Regions from separate parts of the Homo sapiens genome. Here region 2 is linked to region 1. Evidence: promoter capture Hi-C in 16 types of primary human blood cells and fetal thymus (Javierre and others, 2016). All regions are on one chromosome and are shown on one strand. Each heading gives the region's core, a stretch centred on a gene start or on the middle of the fragment in contact. The rest is flanking DNA. Distances are from core to core; before and after follow the strand shown. Region 1 holds the start of MRPL17 (mitochondrial ribosomal protein L17). Region 2 overlaps DCHS1 (dachsous cadherin-related 1).

Region 1 (7,566 bases), core at 1-2,500:
TTAAGGGCTGCAGACTCTTCAGATCCAGTTAAATCCCTGGTGTTTGAGCTGTGTGGGAGCTGTGGTTGCTTGCTTCCTGGCTTTGCCTGAGGTCCTGCCGCAAACCCTGCAGCAGCTGGTTTAGGAGTGTAAGGTGGCTGTCTCTGCGAGGCAGAGGCAGGGGTGGGAGGCAATTCCCTTTATACTCGATCACTGCCATCTTGGCCCGATCCAAACTCCGATTTGGGATCTGCAGCATTCTTGTGTAGCCCCCAGTTTGATCTTTGTACCGAGGGGCCAGTACTTGAAACAGCTTTGGGATCAAATCCTTCTCCTAGAGGGAGAATTATCCAAGAGACAGCAGAGTCAGGCAAAACTGCAGAGGCATTTAACTTTACACCATTCCCAAAGGTAAGGTCCATCCACACATAGAAAGACCTCCCCCTCCCCTCGCCAATCTGGCATAGTCAGTGTTACACAAAGGGGTCGTTTATAGGCAGTTGTGCAGAGGTATATTCACATCGACTTCAACTAACTTAAGACACAGTTTCTAATTTAGTTAGCAGCACTGGCCCATAAGTGAGTACCCAAGTTTAATTCTGCATAGTTCTCCTTTTTCCAACCCCCACCCCCAGGGAGCAAAGGGTGGGATTTTGAAGGCAGATAGGTCGCACTCACTGTGAGCCAGAAGTCAGCCATGCGCATGGCTCGTTCGTTAGTGTCTCCCAGCTTCCCATAGTCGATGAGCTGTGAGGACATAACATCACGGATCCAACCGAGCAAGAAAACAAGGTGCCAATCTAATTTCTCTAATGCCGGAAGGCAATCCATTCTTTCCACTAGCCAAGCATCTCCAATCTACGCCACCCCTAACTCCGCAGCCCTAACCAGTCTTCCATTAGAGGCGATGGAGGGGCGGGTTCAGCCCAAGGTTCTGGGGGACTCAGACTTGGGGAATGGTTTACCAGGTTGGTCCCGGTCCCTTTCCACTTGCAGCCGGCTCCGCCCCCTCAGACCAGACCCGCAGAGTGGACAAGAGGGCCGCGCTCCTCACCTTCTCCGCGTAGCCCCTCATTTCGTCCACACGCGCCCATGGTGCCTCGATGCGTTCGTGCCGCACCAGCCCTGTGAGCAAGTTCCGCAACAGATGGATGCGGGACTCGGGACCGAGGCCCATACGGCGAAATACGCGGCCATGGGAGATCGCTGCAGCGACCGACAGCCGCATGTTTCCAACTTCTGCCCGCCCCTTGGAGGCCGGAACTGGAAACTGGAAGGTAGAGCCGGTGGCGGCAATTTCAGGGAACGCATGCGCCTTAGCTCGGAGCGTGGTGAACGTGTTTGCGCATGCGCATCAGAGCCTGCCTCGTTGGCAATCTCGGGAAGGGCGGAGAAACGGTGTTGAGCTTTTCCAGAGGCGGCGAGCTGGGCGGGCTTCAGGCATCCAGAGCGCTCTGTGGCGGCCGAAGAACCAGGCGCCCCCTAGTGTGGGATAAGCGGGCCATCGGGTTTTTTTTGGGGCTGCGTCAGCCAGTGGCATTTAGGGCGATGGGGCGCTCCGCCGCGGAGACTCCTGGGAAAGAGAGCGTCTGAAGAGAAAGGCACCCGGAGGGTTCGGGGTCCTGCGGGCTGACGGCCCTACCGGGTCCAGCAGTGGCCAGCTGGCCTGGTTGACACCTGTACGCATTGTTTTTAACACAGTGATTTTCAGTAGTAATGGTGAGATGGATAATAACGATGCCCGGAAAAGAAACGCAGATAGTGAAATTTTTCTTTTATTGAAGTAATCACTCCAGTTAAAAAAATTACAGCACTAAAGGGAAAAGTAGTAGATTGTTTTTAATTACACCAGTGTGTCTTTTTAAGGGGAAAAAACATACCTACACATTTATGTGTTAATGAACAATAATATTATAGTTTGTTTTTGAGCCTTAACATCTGCAAATTGGCAATGACTGTCAAAATTATTCCTTGTTATGGGTTGAATTGTGTCTTCCCCATGATTCTTCCCGTCCCCAAAAAGCTATGTTAAGTCCTAACCTGCAGTAACTCAGAATGTGACCTTATGTGGAAATAGGGTCATTGCAGATGTCATTTGTTAAGATGAAGTCATGCAGGCATAGGTGGGCGCCTAATCCAAAATGCCTAGTGTCTAGCTAGCTAGATAGATAGACACATATATACGTACATACATATATGCAGGCCGGGCACGGTGGCTCACTCCTGTAATTCCAGCACTTTGGGAGGCCGAGGCGGGCGGATCACCTGAGGTCAGGAATTCGAGACCAGCCTGGCCAACATGGCGAAACCCCGTCTCTACTAAAAACACAAAAATTAGCCGGGCGTGGTGGCTCATGCCTGTAATTCTAGCTACTCGGGAGGCTGAGGCAGGAGAATAGCTTGAACCCGGGAGGTGGAGGTTGCAGTGAGCTGAGATCGGGCACTGCACTCTAGACTGGGCGACAGAGTGAGGCTCTATCTCAAAAAAAAAAAAAAAAAAAATGCGCATGAAGAGAGAGAGATGGACACAGGGTGATGCTGACCAGGTAAAGACAGAGACATACAGGCAGAAAGCCATGTGACCTTGAAAGCAGAGATTATGGAGTCAAGCAGTTGCAAATCAATGAATGAACACCAAGGATTGCTGGAGCACACCTGAAGCCAAGGGAAAGGTATAAAACGCATTCTTTTTCAGATCTGTCAGAGAGCATGACCCTGCTGCTAACACATCGCTTTCTTACTTCTAGCCTCCAGAGCCACAAAACAATAAATTTCTGTTGTTTTAAGTTCCACAGTTTGTGATAGTTTGTTACAGCAGTCTTAGGAAATGAATTCACTCCTCTTTACATGTACATATTCAGTAGACGTATAGATTTGTCACTTTGTCAGCTTATAGGTGACCAAAGAACACTTCTTTGCTAATTTTAATTTTGAAAAGTTTCTTTAATATGAAGGAACAAATATGCAAATAGGAAAAGTCATGAACATATAAATACATTGACAGATTTATACAAATCACACTTCACAATTAAAGAAATTTACAATAAATTACAGAAATTACAATTACCATTCATGTTTTGTTTCTTTGGGAGCAATTCTTGTAGTTTTCAATTGTCTTTGCAGTTGAAAAATTTCACTAAGATGTTTTCACCAGGATATATATATATTTTTTTGAGACGGAGTTTCTTTCTTGTTGCCCAGGCTGGAGTGCAATGGTGCGGTCTCGGCTCACTGCAACCTCCACCTCCTGGGTTCAAGCGATTCTCATGCCTCAGCCTCACAAGTAACTGGGATTACAGGCGCCCACCACCATGCCTGGCTAATTTTTTTTGTATTTTTAGTAGAGACGGGGTTTCACCATGTTGGCCGGGCTGGTCTCGAACTCCTGACCTCAGGTGATCTGCCCGCCTCAGCCTCCCAAAGTGCTGGGATTACAGGTGTGAGCCACTGTGCCCGGCCCACCAGAAAATTTATCATAAATTTCTATTGGTAAAAACTTGTGAAGAGGTTCTTCTTCAGCAAAAATTAGGTGAAATGAAACATTGATCCATTGTCTTAGAAAATGCTTACACTTGGTAAAAACAATTGTAGCATCAAACACTGTCCTTTTGACTTTTTCTGGCAATACAAGACCGTCATCTCTTGTCTCTTCTGGTAGTCTTCAAAATTTGATTCTTTTTTATATGTCAATTTCCTTACATTTTGTTTTTGCAGCATTACTACTGGCTTTCTCTGCAATTTCTGTGGGCTGATATTAACGGAACAATTTTTTTTTACAGTCCAAGGGTCTTTTATTAGTGGTATTATTTGCACCTATTATGTCATGAATTCATAGGGAATAGGTTCCAGTAGCTCTGGCTCCTCTCCATTGGTTCTCACCAAGTGTGCTTCTCTTGGTGCAGCAGGCTGGCCTGTCAGCTGAATCCAGGTACCTTTCTCTTTGGCTCTCTTCTTTTTCTGATCATTTTCTTTCATGCATTTCAGGAGACTACCTTTTCCCTTAGAGTGTTTAATGTGCTCCATATGCACATTAATTCTTTTGGCAAGAATCTAGCCCTTAACTTTTTTTTTTTTTTTTCCCTACAGCAATGCTAACAGCATGCTGAGTAACATTATAGACTCTTCCAGTTTTTGCCATGGTAACACTTGTGAGGCATTCCTTTTTGAACCATACCCATTCCCTTGATGTCTACAGTATCACCTTTTTTATAGACTCCCATGCATGTGGCCAACTCCATGTTTTCTAAAAGGCCTAGAAAACATACACTGGGTGCCTCTCCTGTTTTCCTTGTGTTGGCCATTTTGGTGAATTACCAGAATATGGAGCTTCCAGCCAAAAGGAAGTTAAAGCAACAATTTAAACCTTGATGTTTTACTGACTGTATGTTGTTCAAGGCTTATTGTGGCTCTTTGCAGATATTTTTGTGTTTGATTAGCCTTCTTTGAAACTTTACATTAATAAAAAAATACTCATAAAAGAAAAGTCCCAGAAAACCAAGGTTGTTTGTTTTAAATCTACTGTTTAAAAGCAGGGATATTTTGTACAACAGGAGTTGGAGTCATGAAATGTACCTGAAGTGAGCCTGAGAGCTAATTAAACTCTTATGAATTTATATCTATAAATATAAATAAAACTCTGGTCTCCTGCACAGCTGGCTCTGTGTGAGTTACTCTTTCTCTATCGCAATTTCCCTGTCTTGTTAAATCGGCTCTGTCTAGGCAGTGGGCAAGGTGAACTCATTGGGTGGTTACAAATCTGGGGGCTTGTCCAGGATTGCCCATGTGGCTACCTGCCCATGGTTTGGTAGTCCCCCTCTGGTGATGGATTCAGATGCCAGCTCAAGCAGCTGCCTAGTTATTTTGGACTGGGGGCTGACTCTGGTATTGTCTCTGCTGAAGGGGCACTGGTGACCCAGTGTGCATGGATTTAATTGCAATAGAGAAATAGTCTTGAGGAGATGTCCTATAACTGTAGCCCTATCACAAGGTGTCTGTCTGTAGCCCAGTCATGGAGTGTCTGTAGCTGTAGCCTCATTACAGTGTGTCTGGATTGGTGAATATCCTAGGCACGGCCAACGCCTCCTTCCTTTTCCCGATTGGTTTGATTCCTTTGGGGAGGGGGTCTTGGTTTTTCTGTTGCCCCATGGTGGGGTGTCGGTCTGTAGCCCCACTGAGGGGCATCTTTCTCAGTTTGGTTCATTTGAGATTCTCGGTTGGCTCTCTCTAATTAGTAGGAAGAGTCTTGGTTTGGGAGACTTCTCAATCAGGAAGATTTTGGGGAGATTTCTCAGACAGAGAACAGGAGGATAGTTTGGAAGGGATACTCTTGGAGTTCTTGGTTAGGGATCTGATTTGGAAGCCCTTCTGTCTGTCTTGTCTTTGTATGTGTTTATATATGTGGAGGGGACCTCAGAAGGACTTGCTGATGAAAGTCCAGCAGGCCTAACTCAGAGAACCCTCCTTATTTGTCTGGTCACATTCGGTGAGTCCCAAAGAAAGCTCAACAGGCCTGGCTCAGGACGACTATCTGCTCTTCGTCTTGCCCAGAGACCACCCATCAAATTACTGGTTGGAGGTCATTCCTCCCCACCTGGAGTGGATCAAAGACAATGGGGACCAATGGGAGAAAGTTTGAGCCTTGCCAGGTCAATACTGGGTGGTGAATGAGATGACTAGTGTCTGTTTTGTTATGTATATTTTGCTTTTACAGGGATGGAAAATGTTAGTTTGTTTCCCCATGCAGCCTCTTGGGCAGCATCTTGCAAAATTGAGAATCTTTTGCTTATGGTTCCATAAGAGAGAAAAGGGTGATTTTCTTTTGTAAAGTGGCTTGACCTCCACAGCTATGGCACAACTAGCAGGGTCATCAAAAGCTGCTCTGTTCTTCCAGAAGCTGCAGAGAAAGGGAACCTGGAAACCTGGTATGCTGGCAAAAAGGGTAAGAAATTCTTACCAGCTGGGTTTCTGTACCTCCCCATCTGTGTGTGTGTGTGTGTGCACGTGTGTGTGTGTGTGTGCACGTGTGTGTGTGTGTGTGTATAAATGGTAAACATCACTATTTGCCTTCTCTGCAAGGGTTTGATTAATAGAAAAAAGGATTTGCGAGACTAGTCAGGCTGTAGCAAATCTGGTTGACTTTGTGCTAAGAATTTGTCTTTCTGTAATGGAGAGAGGGGTATCACAGGATAGAACGTGGGCTTAGGACCCCAGTAAGCCTGCTTTTCAAGCCAGCCTAGCAGACTGGTCAGTAACAAACTTTGTTGAGGGTCCCTGAAACCAATACCGGATGAAATTTCTCTGTCTTGTTTAGTGTCCTTAAGAGCTTAACCTTGTGACCATGTGAGGATATTGTCTCTTGGTTTCTGCCATCCAGAGGACAGGAATTTTGGGGTTCATGTCATAGTTAGCCCTAAAAATTATCTTGAGGAGTTAAGAGCCTTTGCAAGCTTGAAATTGGCTGCTCTAGACTTCTTCTGGGAAGAGCAATAGAAACTGCTCAATGCTGTGTAGCTCAGTAGCTGAAGCTTTTTTTTTTGACAGTGGTGGCCTGGGTTCAATTCTTGGCTTCTGGAAAGTTTCCTTTCTGGTTTGTTATTTATGTAATTTTGCTATTTATTGAGGGTTTTTCCCCCATGGATAGCTTCTGATTTCCTGTCTTGGATTTTCCTTTCTCTAAACTACCCTTGGTAAACTACCCTTGGGGAGATTGTAAATCTTGCCAAAAAAAAAAAAAAAAAAAAAAAAAAGAGAAACTGCTTATCATCTCTTTGAGACACCTTATATGTCCATGGTTAAGTTATAACCTTAGCTAAAACTTATTAATTTCATGTAGAAAGTTACCTGTGGTAGAAATCAAAAGCCAGAAATATCGGCTGTCCTGGCTAGAGTCTGGTAATAAGAAATTTTAAAGGATTTATTTATTTTTTTAAAAAAGATCTCTATGGTTAAAATCAGCTTAATTAAAAAGAAATATCCAAGCTATATGTATTTAAGAGGACTTTATCTTTTTCCTCTTCTTGAATTGTGTTTTCCTGAAAAAAGTTTTTTTTCCTTGGTAGACAGAATTGTTCTTTTCCATTTTGTCTTCTTGCCACTCTTGATGCCCACATGAGAGAATTTAAGATAAATTCTAACAGCCTGGGACTCCTGGGGAAAAGCAGAGGAGGCACCACAGACCCTATTCTGGGATAAAGCTCTGTTTTCCTCACAGAAGCCCAGGAATTGAAAGAGAATAGATCCCTTTCAAAATCTAAGGCTCTATTCTGTTTTGCATTGCATTAGGTGACAGTTTTGACTTTTGTGGGTATCAGAAATTACTTCGCATTATGAGAGAAATTTGGTGTGTAATAACTAGGTAGGAAATTACTTTTGGGGATGGCTAATGGCAGTTATGGGGGGATACTTGGCTCTTTGAAGTTTTGATTAGAGAAGTATGTTCTTGGCCACCTGGAAGATATGGAAACATCTCCAACCCTCACTGAGAGATGAGACTCCCATGGGGGATGGGCTGAGTATAAAATGGGCTGATTGGCTTTGGGCTGTCTTACAATGAAATGCATGGTAAAAGCACTGCACTATCTTCTCCTG
Region 2 (3,603 bases), core at 1-2,500, 57 kb before region 1:
ATGGGTGTCAATACCTGGTAGAGGCTCTGTGAGAAGGCAGGTGCATTGTCATTGACATCCTCCACAAGCACTGTGAGGTTGGCACGGCCCTCATGAGGCCCATCATGTGCCAGCAGCTGCAGCTGGTAGCGGTCACACTGCTCAAAGTCCAGGGGCCCCGTGAGGGAGACACGGCCTCCATAGCGGCCAACACTGAAGGGATCCTGGGGCCCAGATGGGCTTAGCACATACCACAGCACGGGTCCTGAGTCCACATCATTCCCTGTTACCTGTGCAATCTCTGAGCCCAATAACGCATCTGGAATACATGAGACTAGTGTGTTTGGCAATGGACACAGCCCCACCTTGAGCTGCAGGGTGGAGAAAAATGTCTCTCTGCCACCCTTTATGCCACCCACTTTACCCAGCCTCACCTTCTGACACTCGGAGCTCCCAGGGTTGGGGGATGGTGGGGCGATTGTCATTGGTGTCGATGACCATCACCGTCAAGGTAGCTGAGCCCACCAGGGCTGGGCTCCCTCTGTCTGTGGCCATCAGCACCAACCTGGACACAAAGCACAATCATCGGGTGGGACATGGCAATAAGGGGGAACTCTGGGCAGGGCCAGGAGGACTCAGGACAGAGCTTAGGGCTGGGGAATTCAGGATGTGGCCAAGGGACCAGATGAGTTCAAGGCAGGGCTTGAAACTGGACAGGCCCAAGATGGGGTCTTGGGTCCACAGGGCCAGGCCTCACCGTGTTTCAGCCCAGATCTCACGGTCCAGGATGGCTGTGGTAGTGATAGTGCCTGTGGTTGGGTCTACGTGGAACAATCCACGTGCCGGCTGGGATGCAGCCAGACTGTAGGAAATCTGTCCTCCAGAGCCTTGATCCAGGTCATCCGCCTCCACCTGGTGAGGGTAGGAGGCTGCTGGGACTGGTCTGGCCACAGACAAGTCTGACTAGCCCTGCTCCCCCGCCCAATCTTTCCATCACACCCCGCACCTGCAGCAGGGGCCCCTCCAAGGGCCGGGACTCAGGAAGGAAGGCCACATAATGGGGCCGCAGGAAACGGGGAGCATTGTCGTTGGCATCTTGCAGGGTCAGGGTCAGCACAGTGAAGGCAAAGGCTCCTCCACTCTCTGCCTGCAGCACCAGTCGCAGCCGTGGACTCACCTCGAAGTCTAGCCCCTCTGCTGAGCGAACTGTGATGGCACCTGGGCGAGATAGAATGCATCAGTGATAGCCCCCTTTGCTTGCCCTGGAGCCTCCTTCTCTAAGACCCCTTACTCAAGGACAGCCCTTCACCCATCAAAGGCTCCTCTGATGCAAAGAACCTGCTTCCCCAGTAGCCTGTCCTGCACAGAGCCCCTGCTCCTATTTCTTACCTGTACTAGGCTGGATGGAGAATGTCCCTTTCTCATTCCCACTGAGAATGCTGTAGGTGATGGGTCCATTTGTGCCTCCTGCATGGACGGCCCTGGGGGAGACAATAGGAGTCCCTGCAGAAAGAACGGTATTGTTGGACTGTGAGCGCGAGACTGGGAGAGTTTGGGGGACATTTTCAAAGCACAACCCCAGCCCATTTGGGAGTCTGAATCTGGAAGAAATGGCTGGGGACCCACCTGGGGGCGCATTCTCACGAATCGTAGCCTCACTGCTAGCCCGGGGAAAGCGGGGTCCACGCTCAGCTTCCCCCTGCAGTCCAACAATGATCACACCAGTGGCAGAGCGAGCTGGACGGCCAAGATCAGTGGCCACAATGAAGAGGACACGATCTCGGGGGCCTAGAGCTACAGGAGAGCGGGCCACGCGGATTTCACCAGTGTAAGAGTCCACAGTAGTGCCAGGAGGTGGTGTGCCTGCCAGCCGGTACAGAATGGAAGCATTGGCACCAGCATCACGATCTTCAGCTCTCAGTGTGGCCAGAGCCAGGGTTGGGGTACTGAAGCTGGGGCCTGGGCGGGGCAGACGTAGGCGCAGAGGACTGGTGGGGAAGGTGGGTGCATGGTCATTGACATCGCGCACCGTGATGGTGACAGACACTGTGGTGCTTAGGGGCCCAGCAGCTGCACCATCCACTGCACTCACAGAAAAGGTGTAGCTGGGACACTGTTCTCTGTCCAAGGCTGCAGCTGTGCGCAGTTCTCCAGAGCTGGGCTCCAGCAGGAAGGCTCCTGCTGTACCGGCGCCCAGGTAGTAGGTCACATGGCCATTAGCTCCAGCATCAGGGTCATGAGCCTGTAGCTGCAGCAGCAGGGTCCCTGCAGGCACATCCTCCGGCACCTCCACCGAGTAGGCAGGCACAGGAAAGGCTGGAGCATGGTCATTGGCATCCAGCACTGTCACTGTCAAAAGCAGCGTGGCACTGAGAGCTGGCTGGCCTCCATCCCGGGCCTCTATCCTCAGCTGGAAAGCTGGCTCCACTTCTCTGTCTAGTGGCCGCATGGTGCCAAACTCTCCAGAAGCAAGGTCTAGGACAAAGGCTCCTGATGGGTCCCCATCTGCAGAGAAGGGCATGCACATATAAATATACATGTGTCGTGGGGATGGGGGTGATTTACAGACAACAGGAGAGAGTGAGCATGTGCACAAAAGCAAGTGAACCTTATGAGAGAAAGGAAGAAAAACAGAAACAGAAAGTAAAAGAAGATACTATAAAGCAGCTGGTATCATTTGTGTGTGGTCTGGGAACCCCGGGAGTCCCCCAAGTCCTTTTCATGTGCATAAGATCAAAATTATTTCATAGCACTACTAAGCCATTATATGGCCTTTTTATTCTCATCTCACAGATGTACAGTAGAATTTACAGATGCTCTATGACGTGATGATATAATGTCTTGGTTAAGGGAATGTGTGCTTATGTATTCCTGTGTGTTCTAGAATATTCTAGACAGAAAGTTTAGAGCATGAATCTGTGTGTCTTCAGAGATTCAGTTTGTTCTGGCTATCTTCAATTATACCTGCTTTAATCTCTGAAATTAACTACTTTCCAACAAATTGTTACTTGAAATCTTAGTATTTCCTTGTGCTTACACAGAAATACTGGCAAGCTGTATACTTCATTGGCTTGTTTCACAATCATATTTTAACATCATCTCAGTTTTATTATCTAATACAGTAAATACTGATATAATCCACATAAAAACTCCTTAGGGTTCTCAAAAATTAAGAGTGTTAAGGGTTTTTGAGACCAAAAATTTGAGAACGACTGCTCTACAGGGAGAGACAAATGAGAAAGAAAAGAAATAGGAAGATAGAAACAGAGACACACAGGGAGATAAAGAGCATGGAATGAGATACCTAGCTACACTGGGTATAAGCATGAAAGAAAAGGTGGACGACATCAAGAGGGAAAAGGAGACCCAGACACATGCACTGAGGCTGACAGCAGCCAAGAAGGAGCAAGAACCAGGCAAGTGGGTGCTGAATTAAGTGGGAGTGGGAAGGTTCTCACCTAGGATGCGGTACTGCAACTGCCCATTGGCTCCCACATCTGGATCAGAGGCCCGAAGCATGGTAAGGGTCTGGGGGTCCTGGCCCTCAGGCACCTCCAGAGAGAGATGGGCACTCCCAAAGGTTGGTGCATGGTCATTCTCATCCTCCACAGCCACTCGAACAGT

Evidence for each region. The method cuts DNA at HindIII sites, captures the fragments that hold promoters and counts their contacts. A CHiCAGO score of 5 or more calls a contact.
Region 2: a fragment that was not itself captured here is called in contact with the fragment with the promoter of MRPL17 in region 1 in 2 of 17 cell types (non-activated CD4 T cells and activated CD4 T cells); the score reaches 5.5 in non-activated CD4 T cells.

Annotation. Positions count from the first base shown.
Region 1 is chr11:6,682,090-6,689,655 of GRCh38, forward strand. It overlaps MRPL17 (mitochondrial ribosomal protein L17), which reads right to left and starts at 1,251. Exons shown (of 3, transcript NM_022061.4): 1 at 1,034-1,251; 2 at 658-726; 3 at 1-313. The coding sequence starts at 1,207. The coding sequence ends at 29. It also overlaps the pseudogene RPL21P94. RefSeq lists enhancers at 793-1,555, 972-1,411. The HindIII fragment of the contact is 17,410 bases long and covers 1-6,423 here.
Region 2 is chr11:6,625,184-6,628,786 of GRCh38, forward strand. DCHS1 (dachsous cadherin-related 1) reads right to left here. Exons shown (of 21, transcript NM_003737.4): 13 at 3,438-3,603; 14 at 1,606-2,484; 15 at 1,369-1,482; 16 at 986-1,197; 17 at 737-891; 18 at 414-544; 19 at 15-298. Among named protein-coding and RNA genes, the nearest start is that of TPP1, 7.6 kb to the left of the region's middle. RefSeq lists an enhancer at 2,648-2,737. The HindIII fragment of the contact is 6,198 bases long and covers 1-3,603 here.